Regions from separate parts of the Homo sapiens genome. Here region 2 is linked to region 1. Evidence: promoter capture Hi-C in human tissues and cell types (Jung and others, 2019). All regions are on one chromosome and are shown on one strand. The core of a region is centred on a gene start or on the middle of the fragment in contact, and the rest is flanking DNA. Distances in the headings are between cores, read along the strand shown.

Region 1 (5,009 bases), core at 1,446-3,945:
AGAGAGAATACCTAGGGAAGGAAGCTTTCACAGAAGCTGAAGAAAGTGATCAGTCTGGAGAAGAGGCAGCCCAGCCCTGGAGACCTGGAAAATCCCCTCCCTGCAACTGGCCTGTCTCTAGAACCTAATCACTCCTCCACATGAAAAGGATCAAATTCTCCAAAAAAATCTATTAGATTGATTCTCAAGGGTTGAATTTATGCAGGAAACCCTGACTGTGAATTTGAATTCCTTGCACCCTTTCAGTCAGATGAGTGGCCAAGCTACACAGCCTGAACTTATTGAAGAAATTTTGAACTAAAACAAAGGGATAAGAAAACACGGGAAAGAACTGGTATATGAAAATAAAACAAGTTGATCATTTTTTGATTACTTAAATAAAGCCTGCTTTTTTATTTCATCTGATTCCAAGAAGTAGAAAAGAATGCTTATTTAACAGTTACTGCCATCTTCGCTCACATACAGAGTACATGGGGGAGTCAAGACATTTCCTGAAAATCCCTCAGAGGTGAGTGAGGTAGTGACTTGGGGTAGCAAGACTGTCCTCCTAAGTCAGTTGAGGAGTGACATCGGGATGAAGCTCCACCCACAAGCCCTGCCCACAGAGGTCTTCTCCCTGAGTGTGTCCTCCTTTAGTACAAGATGAGGTTTAACTTATTGCTAATGTGTTTCACATTTTCCCTCCCCACCCATGTAAAGCTTGTCCCAAAAAAGCTGTTCTTTGATGAGGACTTTTTCCTAAGTCCTTGTCCATTCTCCCCACACATGCAGAATTTCTATTCAATATACTCTGGGGCTTACTGCGGGGTGACTCATGGCTGAAGCCTTATCTACACTCCTTATATACCTAACATGTCTTAGAATCAATTATCTGGACAGACAACGAGACAGAAAATTGAGGATTCACTGGGGAGTGAGGGCAGGACTGGGCAGAGGAAGAAGCTGACCTGCAATGTGTCTGCAACCCAGTGATCCTTCAGTTCGATGGGGATCTCTGGATCTGGAATGACCTTCTGGAGTTGTCCCCGTTGAGTCAAGGGTTGGGGCCAGAAGGTACCCCTGCAAAGGTGCATTGCCCCTGTGGTGCATGCAGCTCCCTGTGGCTGAGAGTGAGTTCCAGAGCGGAGTGCATCTCTGGAATGCATCTCTGCCAGCAGCAACACTGTTCTCTCAAGCAGCTGGGGTGTTACCCCTGAAAAGGTCATCTGGGCAGAGCTCCACAGTGTCCCCACATGCAGATTCTCCCTGTGGTGTGTGATCACAAAAGCTTTGCCCATACATCCTACAAACAAAGACCTCCTTCCTGAGGGCCACTCTGTGCCTGAGTGTCCATTCTTTTACTGATGCTCCCCAACACTCCCCAGACAAGGGTGCTTTCCCCTGAGGCTGTCATTGGATGTCTGGTAAATGTTGATTATTGCTAAAGCCTTCCCACAGTCCCTACACATAAACTTCTCTCCTAAGTGTGTCCTTTTGTGCATGCTCAAGGCTGACTGATGGCTACAGTTGCCCGTACTCTATACTCATAAGGCTCCTCTCCTGAACGTGTCCCTCCCATGCCTGATAAGGGCTGACACATCTCTGGAACTTCACTCACAATCTGTGTACACAGGGTCTACTCCCCATGTGTCTCTCTGGGGTAACATGAGGCTTGACTGGTCACTCAGGTCTTGTTCATGACCCCTGCATACACAGGTTTCTCCCGTCAGTGTGTCCTCTGGTGTCTGATGAGATTTGACTTATGACTAAAGCCTCGCCCACACTCCCTACAAACATAATGCTTCTCCCCTGAGTGTGTCCTCTGGTGGACAAGGAGGAGTGATTTCCGGCTAAAGCCTCGGCCACACTCACTGCACACGTAAGGCTTCTCTCCTGAGTGTGTCCTCTCATGTACAATGAGGGTTGACTTGTCACAAAAGCCTCGCCCACATTCCCTGCAAATATAAGGCTTCTCATTTGAGTGCGTCCTCTGGTGTCTGATGAGATTTGACTTCTGGCTAAAACCTCGCCTACACTCCCTGCAGACATAATGCTTCTCCCCTGAGTGTGTCCTCTGGTGGACAAGGAGGAGTGATTTCCGACTAAAGCCTCGGCCACACTCACCACACACATAAGGCTTCTCTCCAGAGTGCGTCCGCTCGTGTATGATGAGGGTTGACTTGTCACAAAAGCCTCGCCCACACTCCCTGCAAACATAAGGCTTCTCATCCAAGTGTGTCCTCTGGTGTTTGATGAGATCTGAGTTCTGGCTAAAGCCTCGCCCACACTCCCTGCAAACATAAGGCTTCTCCCCTGAGTGTATCCTCTGGTGTTTTCTGAGGGTTGACTTATCACAAAAGCTTCGTCCACACTCCAGGCACACATAGGGTTTCTCACCGGAGTGTGTCCTCTGGTGTCTGATGAAGGATGACTTCTCGCTAAAGCCTCGCCCACACTCGCTGCAAACATAGGGCTTCTCCTCTGAGTGAGTCCACTGATGTCTATTGAGGATGGACTTACTTCTAAAGCTTTGCCCACACTCCCTGCACAAATAAGGCTTCTCTTCTGAATGTGTTCTCTGGTGTCTGCTGAGGTTGGACTTCTGGCTAAAACCTCGCCCGCACTCACTGCACACATAAGGCTTCTCCATCGAGTGTATACGATGGTGTCTGATGAGGGTTGATCTATCTTTAAAGCTTCGCCCACAATCACTGCAAATGTAGGGCTTCTTCCCTAAGAGGGTCCTCGGGTTTGTAATAAAGTTTGATTCCAGGTTATGGTCCGGTTCATACTCTCTACAGTTGATTGCTCCAAATCTCAAGGTTTCTAATTCCTTCAAGCCTTTGTCTAGCTGCACAGGGTTTGGTCTTTGGGCTGAGCTGGGCTCTGTTTCTACCACCATGTTGCCTTTTCTAGGACTTGCTGACTGTCTTTGGAGTGGGCTGGGGAATGCCCTTGAGGTTTCTCTCTCCTCTGTCCTTGCAGACCAGGGTTTGGAGCCACCTCCTCTCTCCTGACCTTCTGCATTTTCAAACCAACAGCTTACATGGGAATACTGCTGCCCCTGCTGTTTCCAATGCCCTGGGCTAGAATTCCCTGGATGGAAGTGATTTTCTGCACATAAGCCCAGGAAGATCTGAAGTACATGTTGACTGAGGAACTGCTGACAGGAGAAGGCCAGAAGGCAGGAGGAACAAGTGTAGATTTCTGGCTTTGGTTCTGCTGAAGAATGAAAGTTTTCTGTTAGAGTAGCCATAAGTAGGGCTGCTGAGTTGTTCTGCCTTGTCTTAGGACAGAGAATGTTTTACTGCCATGCCTATAATTGATAATATAAGTATAACACAATTTGCTTCTGAACAATGATTCCTTTACATTCCATCACATTTTCTATTGCAATCCAGAAAATCCATAACAAAAATATCTTGAGAAACCAGGAACCTCTCAAGTGAGTATTCTGCTCTGTAAACAGCTTCAATCATAGTTAGCCTTCTCCTAAGCCATAGACATTCACATTGGTATATACTGTCCACAGCTCTTTGTTCTGCTTGGAGATAGTGGTCTCTATGACACATGTGGAAATCTCCTTCATGACTTTTCTTATTATATAAAAAAGGGTCTGATAGACATAAAAAGTCCCTCATTCTGGAGGGCTTCCGAATGTAGGAGAAAGTGTATGGAATACTGGTTAAAGAAATTATTGTATATAAAACAAATATAAATTTCAGGCTGCCCACCTGTAAACAAAGACTTATTAGAAAATGCCAAAGTACTAGGTTCTCTACTAAGTATTATGAATTCAGTAATGAACAAGAAAGACATGGTCCATGATTTTAGGATTCTGGCACCAAGCCAAAACAACAAAATCTGCCTTTCTTTCCACTTTTCATAAATCAGTAAAAAGAAAAACTTTTCATTTACAGCAGCACCTGCCTACAAAATATCAAAACTAGATGTTGCATTTCATCACAACATGATCTATCCAACTGATGCTGAGAAATGACCACGTACTTGGCCCCAGACCCTACTGGGCCTAACTGAAGACTTCTGCCTAACTAATGAACACTGGAATCTTTATAATCAACTGTATCTGTCCTTAAAAACTCATCCTATCCTATCTGGAATGCTAGTTTTCAAACCTTAATTAGCATAACCATCATGAAACTGCTCCCTAACAGTAAAACCTTTTATTTTTCCCCCTTGCCAAACTATACAGTGAATTTCTTCACTGCTGTGTCTCCTTTCCTGTTAAGTAAATGATTTGTGCCATTTGATTTTTTGACCTTTTGTGGTCTTTGTTTTAGTTTTTGACAATGTGTTTTCCCTTTGGTTGCTCTGACAAGGCACCGACCAGTGCTGGAACTGCTGGACTGCCAGAGGAACACAGCTGTGTGTAGACTGAGCCGTATGTGCTCAAAGCTGCTTGTCTGGCAGCCTTGCCATGGGTGAGGCTCTCAGCAGCTGTCAGGCTCTGCTTGCTGTCACTGAGCACTCCCTGAGTCTGTTTGGTTTACTTGGGTTCTCAAAGTAACTCATTATTTGTTTCTATTTCTGACCCGTCATCTCTTATAAGACTTGTGGTCATTCTGGTACTTTGTGACGTGAACTTTTTGCCTTGATATTTTGACTGTGATTCGCTGCCATCTTTTTGGATTATCTAGAAGCATACCAAGTCATTCAGACTGCAGTCTGAATATATATACGGCAGTGATGTAACACCCTACATCACTGAGAAGCATTTCAGTAGGAGAAGAAATCTCATTTGTGTCTATTTTGTGTCAAACACTGGAACCAAAAGCTCCTTACACTTAACACCCTGTTAAAGGGACCCCATGTATACTCACTATGATTCTAATCCCTACGCCTTACTAGGAAAGTATCATCATTTCACTAAAGATAATTTAGATTTACTGAGGCCATTTTGAGGAACTCTGTTTTCTATCATGCCCCTTTGCTATATAATAATTCAGTATATATTTCTAAAGAACTATATAGTTGAGAGATCTGTCTTGCATCATCAATATATTTACTCA
Region 2 (5,009 bases), core at 1,570-4,069, 330 kb after region 1:
ATTTACTCAATATAGCCAAACATAGCTAATAATCAGTTGATTTCATTTTCCTCTGGAGACATCGCTCCTAGAGCACATCTTCTGATTTCAGGCTGGGTTGGTTACTTTCTTTACCCGGGGGTATAGTTGACATCCCAGGCCTTTCTCATCGTCCCTTTTCTGTGCTTAATCTCATTTATTGAATGCCATATTGCTCTCTTTCTTAGTTTAATTCTTTGTTTTGCTGAAGCACATCCTCCAGTAGCTTTCTAAGAAAGGGTATATGCAAGGTCAAATTTCTGAGACCTTGTATGATTGAAATGTCATTATTCTACCCTCCCAATTAATAATCATTCAGACCTATACATTTCTATATTAGACATCATTTTGAGGGCATTTATTGTCTTCTAGCTACCAGTATTGGTGTTTAGAAGTGTGATACCATTCTTGCTTCAGATCCGATGTATGTGATGTTTTTATTTGGTGGAAGCTCTTAGGATTGTCTTTTTATCCCTGCTAATGTGAATTTCATTATATGCCTTGATGTTAGCTGCCCTGTTTCATGTATTGGGCTGTGAATTGGTGGAAAGTTATGGTCTAGAGAATCATGTCCTTCAATTCTGAAGAGTCTCTTGATTTTTAAAAATCTTTCCCTTCTGGTCGGGCAGGGTGGCTCACACCTGTAATCCCAGCACTTTGGGAGGCTGAGGCGGTCACATCACCTGAGGTCAGGAGTTTGAGACCAGCCTGGCCGACATGGTGAAACCCTGTCTCTACTAAAAATACAAAAATTAGCTGGGTGTGGTGGTGGGTGCCTGTAATCTCAGTTACTTGGGAGGCTGAAGCAGGAGAATCACTTAAACCCGGGAGGCGGAGGTTGCAGTGAGCCAAGATGGCGCCATTGCACTCCAGCCTGGGCAACAAGAGCGAAACTCTGTCTCAAAAAAAAAAAAAAAAAAAAATAGAAAGAAAGGTTTTCCTCCTCAGAGCACTCCCTCAATAAACCATGTGTACAAGTATCCCCATCTCAGGCTCTACTTTTAGAAATTATGACCCATTGATATAGTCTGAATATTTGTCCAAATCTCAAGTTGAAATCTCAAATCCCAATGTTGGAGGTAGGGCCTGATGGGAGGTGTTTGGGTCATGGGGGTGGATATTTCATGGCTTGGTGCTGTCCTTGAAATAGTGAGTGAGTTCTCTCAAGATCTGGTTGTTTAAGTGTGTGGCAACTCCCCTAACCACCACTCTCTCCCTTGCTCTTCACCCTTTGCCTTCTGCCATGATTGGAAGTTTCCTGAGGTCTCCCCAAAAGCAGATGCTGGTACCCTACTTCCTGTACAGCCTGCAAAACTGCAAGCCAATTAAGCCTCTTTTCTTATAAATTACCCAGTCTCAGGTATTTCTTCATAGCAACGCAAGAATGGCCTAATACACCCACCATCTGGTGCAGTGCCTGGCACATAGGAAGCACTTAAATAAATGATTGTTGAATACAAAATAAACTCTGAGAAAATCACAGACAGAACTCTCCTATACATGCATACAGAGCACCTGGTGCATAGTAAATCTTTAAGGAGCTTTAGACTCTCCGATCCCCCCATGCCCTGCAATATGGAGTAGCCTCATCTTGGTGGACTCATCAGGACATGCTCCCCAGGTCTGTATGTCCAGGAATGCAATTGTGTGGATGCATCCAGGATTGATCAGGCTCAGGGAATTGCCAATCTTAAACCTTAATGTTCCTTTACAAGCACAATTGGAACTTAATGCCAAAAAAAAAAAAATTCTGGGATCTTCTGTTATACCCTATCCCATTACGGACAAATCTACTCGTAAAACCCAGCTGCTGGATAAGCAAGAACAGCCAGACCAAGGGCGATCAGTGCATGGTCATTAGGGCTGGTGACCCTCGTCTCTGGGCAAGGCCTGCTGGAGGTGGATATGCAGCCTGATTCTTGTTCTGTCTCCTCCTCTCCTAGGGGCTGTATGGCCACTGTCTCCCATTTTGCCACCCCTACCAGTTTTCCTTCAAAGTATGATATGTGGGCAAAGATTAAGTTCTCTTAATTATGACACATTTCCGCTCTTGCCTCTCAAGTCACTAAACTGAGATGTGCTGGACCCCTATGGCCACCACCCATTTACAGATGATCAGTGTAATCTGATATACTGATAATCCAAGTGACTAAGCCCTTCATTATATGTTCATTTTCCTTAACTCCATTCTCAGACTGTAACCTTAACCTCTAATAAGGGGGTTACTAGGTCATAGTCCTCTTAAGTTCATGTCCTCTACCTCATTACTGGAACCCCAGTATGCATAACACCCCCTATAAACTGTAGTGCTTAGAATACCTGAACAGCCCCCTCCTCTCTCACCCCCATTTAGCAGGTTATGCGGAAGCCCAGCCCCAGAAGCCTCAGGCAGTCCCCTGGCAGAGCCCATCTCTGCAATCTGGAACTTCAGGCCTGAAAAATCCCCTAGAAGGACCCACAGGGAAGACAGCTGGGGACAGAGATATTGAATGACTTCGCCCTGGACCTGCAGCTCTGCAAACTCACAGGAAGAAGAAAGCAGACCTCGCTCCCTTGGACAGATGCCCAAGTAGTAATGGGGTTAGAATGCCTTCCTGACAACTCAGATCCCCAAGGGAGGGCCCTAGGGCAGAGAATCAGCAAAGGCAAGAGGATGAGTCTTAGTTCTCAGAAATCCCTGACTTCCCAGCTAAGCCCCACCTAGGCCACCAGCTGCTTATGAGGTCAGAGCAGCAGCAGCAGCAGCCCCCTCCCTACCCCACGGCCCCACGTGGTAACAGGTCACAATGCCCCGGGTGCCCACTCCCAGAATGCTGACCAAAGTGGGAGGAGGTGAGGAGGGTTTGCTGGGTGGGTATGGGGGAGGGGGAGACTCTGCAGGAGCCTAATTCCCCACTCTGAGCTCACCCTTCTGTCTGCCCGGGCCCTACCCCTTCCCCTACTCTCACCCTTATAATCCTTTTCAGCACTAGGTCTTCCCGTCACCTCCACCTCTCTCCATGACCCGGCTCTGCTTACCCAGACCCGAAGCACGTGAGGATCCGATCCCAGTTCCTCCAAGGGGCCTGGGTGCTGGGGAGGGGTCAGGTAGTCCAGTGCGTCCACCTGTATCCACCTGGGGCCCTAGCTGGGCCCAGCTCCTGGACAGTGTCCTATGGCTGGGGGCACTAGGACTGACAATCCAGGCAGTCTTTTCCACCACTGGCCCAGCCCTGCTGCTGCTTCTGGTCAGCTTCCTCACCTTTGACCTGCTCCATAGGTAAGTGGGCAGCAGCCTGGCAGGTGGGCATTGTAGGCGGGCGGGCCAGTGGACAACTTCCCTAAGCCCAGTCACCACCCTCTCTCTCCACAGGCCCGCAGGTCACACTCTGCCACAGCGCAAACTTCTCACCAGGGGCCAGAGTCAGGGGGCCGGTGAAGGTCCTGGACAGCAGGAGGCTCTACTCCTGCAAATGGGTACAGTCTCAGGACAACTTAGCCTCCAGGACGCACTGCTGCTGCTGCTCATGGGGCTGGGCCCGCTCCTGAGAGCCTGTGGCATGCCCTTGACCCTGCTTGGCCTGGCTTTCTGCCTCCATCCTTGGGCCTGAGAGCCCCTCCCCACAACTCAGTGTCCTTCAAATATACAATGACCACCCTTCTTCATCAGGCCCCCTTTTCTCCTTCCTGGCTGGGCAGGTGGGATGATACCCCTTTCTTCCCAGCCTGAACCTCACAGTCCTATAATATAGGTATCAGATACCTGGATCTGAGTCTTTGGGCAGCAAGAGAAGGTAGGATACTAGCCAGGGAGCCCAAGGAAGAATGTGGCAGCCACCTCAGAGCCTGTGGATTGGGGGCAGCCACTCTGGCCTCCTCTGTGGCTCTAGAGAATGAAGGTCCAGACAGAAAGACTTGCGAGAGAGCAGTTTGGAAAGGGGTGGATATCAGCCAGCAGGGAAAGCAGGAAAGGGACAGGGATCCAGGGAGGGCTTCCCATGAGAAAGCATGAGAAACTACATCTGCGGGGCTCCGAGGCTCCCCTGCCAGCCTGGAGGGTCCGTGCAGAGGGACTTGGGTGGGCCTCACACCCTACAGTGACTCCTCTCTTGGCTGGACCCCACCCCAGCCCGGGTCACAAAGGGGCTCCTCTGGGGAGGGTGGGGGTAGATGAGAGTGGGGACTTGGATCTGCCTGCCAGGCCGTCCTGGGCGCTGCAGGAAGCAACATGACTTAGGTAACTGCCCAGAGGTAAGTCCCAGTCCCTAATTCTGTAGCCCCACCCCACGCACACTGGTGCCCTCCTGACCCCTGCACCCCCTCTCTGCCCCCCCCCCCCAAGGTCCCAGGCATCTTCAAGACCCTGGCCCTCTCCCCAGGTGCACCAGACATGATGCAGCAGCCGCGAGTGGAGACAGATACCATCGGGGCTGGCGAGGGGCCACAGCAGGCAGTGCCCTGGTCAGCCTGGGTCACGAGGCATGGCTGGGTGCGCTGGTGGGTGAGCCACATGCCCCCGAGCTGGATCCAGTGGTGGAGCACCTCGAACTGGCGGCAACCGCTGCAGCGCCTGCTGTGGGGTCTGGAGGGGATACTCTACCTGCTGCTGGCACTGATGTTGTGCCATGCACTCTTCACCACTGGCTCCCACCTGCTGAGCTCCTTGTGGCCTGTCGTGGCCGCGGTGTGGCGCCACCTGCTACCGGCTCTCCTGCTGCTGGTGCTCAGTGCTCTGCCTGCCCTCCTCTTCACGGCCTCCTTCCTGCTGCTCTTCTCCACACTGCTGAGCCTTGTGGGCCTCCTCACCTCCATGACTCACCCAGGCGACACTCAGGATTTGGATCAATAGAAGGGCAACCCCATCCCACTGCCTGTGTCTGTTGAGCCCTGGCCTAGGGCCTGAGACCCCACGGGGAGAGGGAGGGCAATGGGATCAGGGCTCCCTGCCTTGGCAGGGCCCAGACCCCTAGTCCCTAACAGGTAGACTGGCCTGACCCCGGACTCCTTCCTCA

Evidence for each region. Contacts are between HindIII fragments. The study calls those that stand out against the background at their distance.
Region 2: the fragment with the promoter of C20orf141 here is called in contact with a fragment that was not itself captured in region 1 in 1 of the 25 tissues and cell types used here (mesendoderm cells).

What each region holds. Positions count from the first base shown.
Region 1 is chr20:2,481,456-2,486,464 of GRCh38, forward strand. It overlaps ZNF343 (zinc finger protein 343), which reads right to left. Exons shown (of 6, transcript NM_024325.6): 6 at 362-3,201. The coding sequence ends at 1,706. Among named protein-coding and RNA genes, the nearest start is that of SNRPB, 13 kb to the left of the region's middle. The HindIII fragment of the contact is 4,668 bases long and covers 362-5,009 here.
Region 2 is chr20:2,812,168-2,817,176 of GRCh38, forward strand. It overlaps C20orf141 (chromosome 20 open reading frame 141), which reads left to right and starts at 2,820. Exons shown (of 3, transcript NM_001256538.2): 1 at 2,820-2,850; 2 at 2,985-3,277; 3 at 3,371-3,663. The coding sequence starts at 3,018. The coding sequence ends at 3,608. It overlaps TMEM239 (transmembrane protein 239), which reads left to right and starts at 4,197. Exons shown (of 2, transcript NM_001167670.3): 1 at 4,197-4,248; 2 at 4,377-5,009. The coding sequence starts at 4,388. The coding sequence ends at 4,846. RefSeq lists a silencer at 4,694-4,753. The HindIII fragment of the contact is 18,533 bases long and covers 1-5,009 here.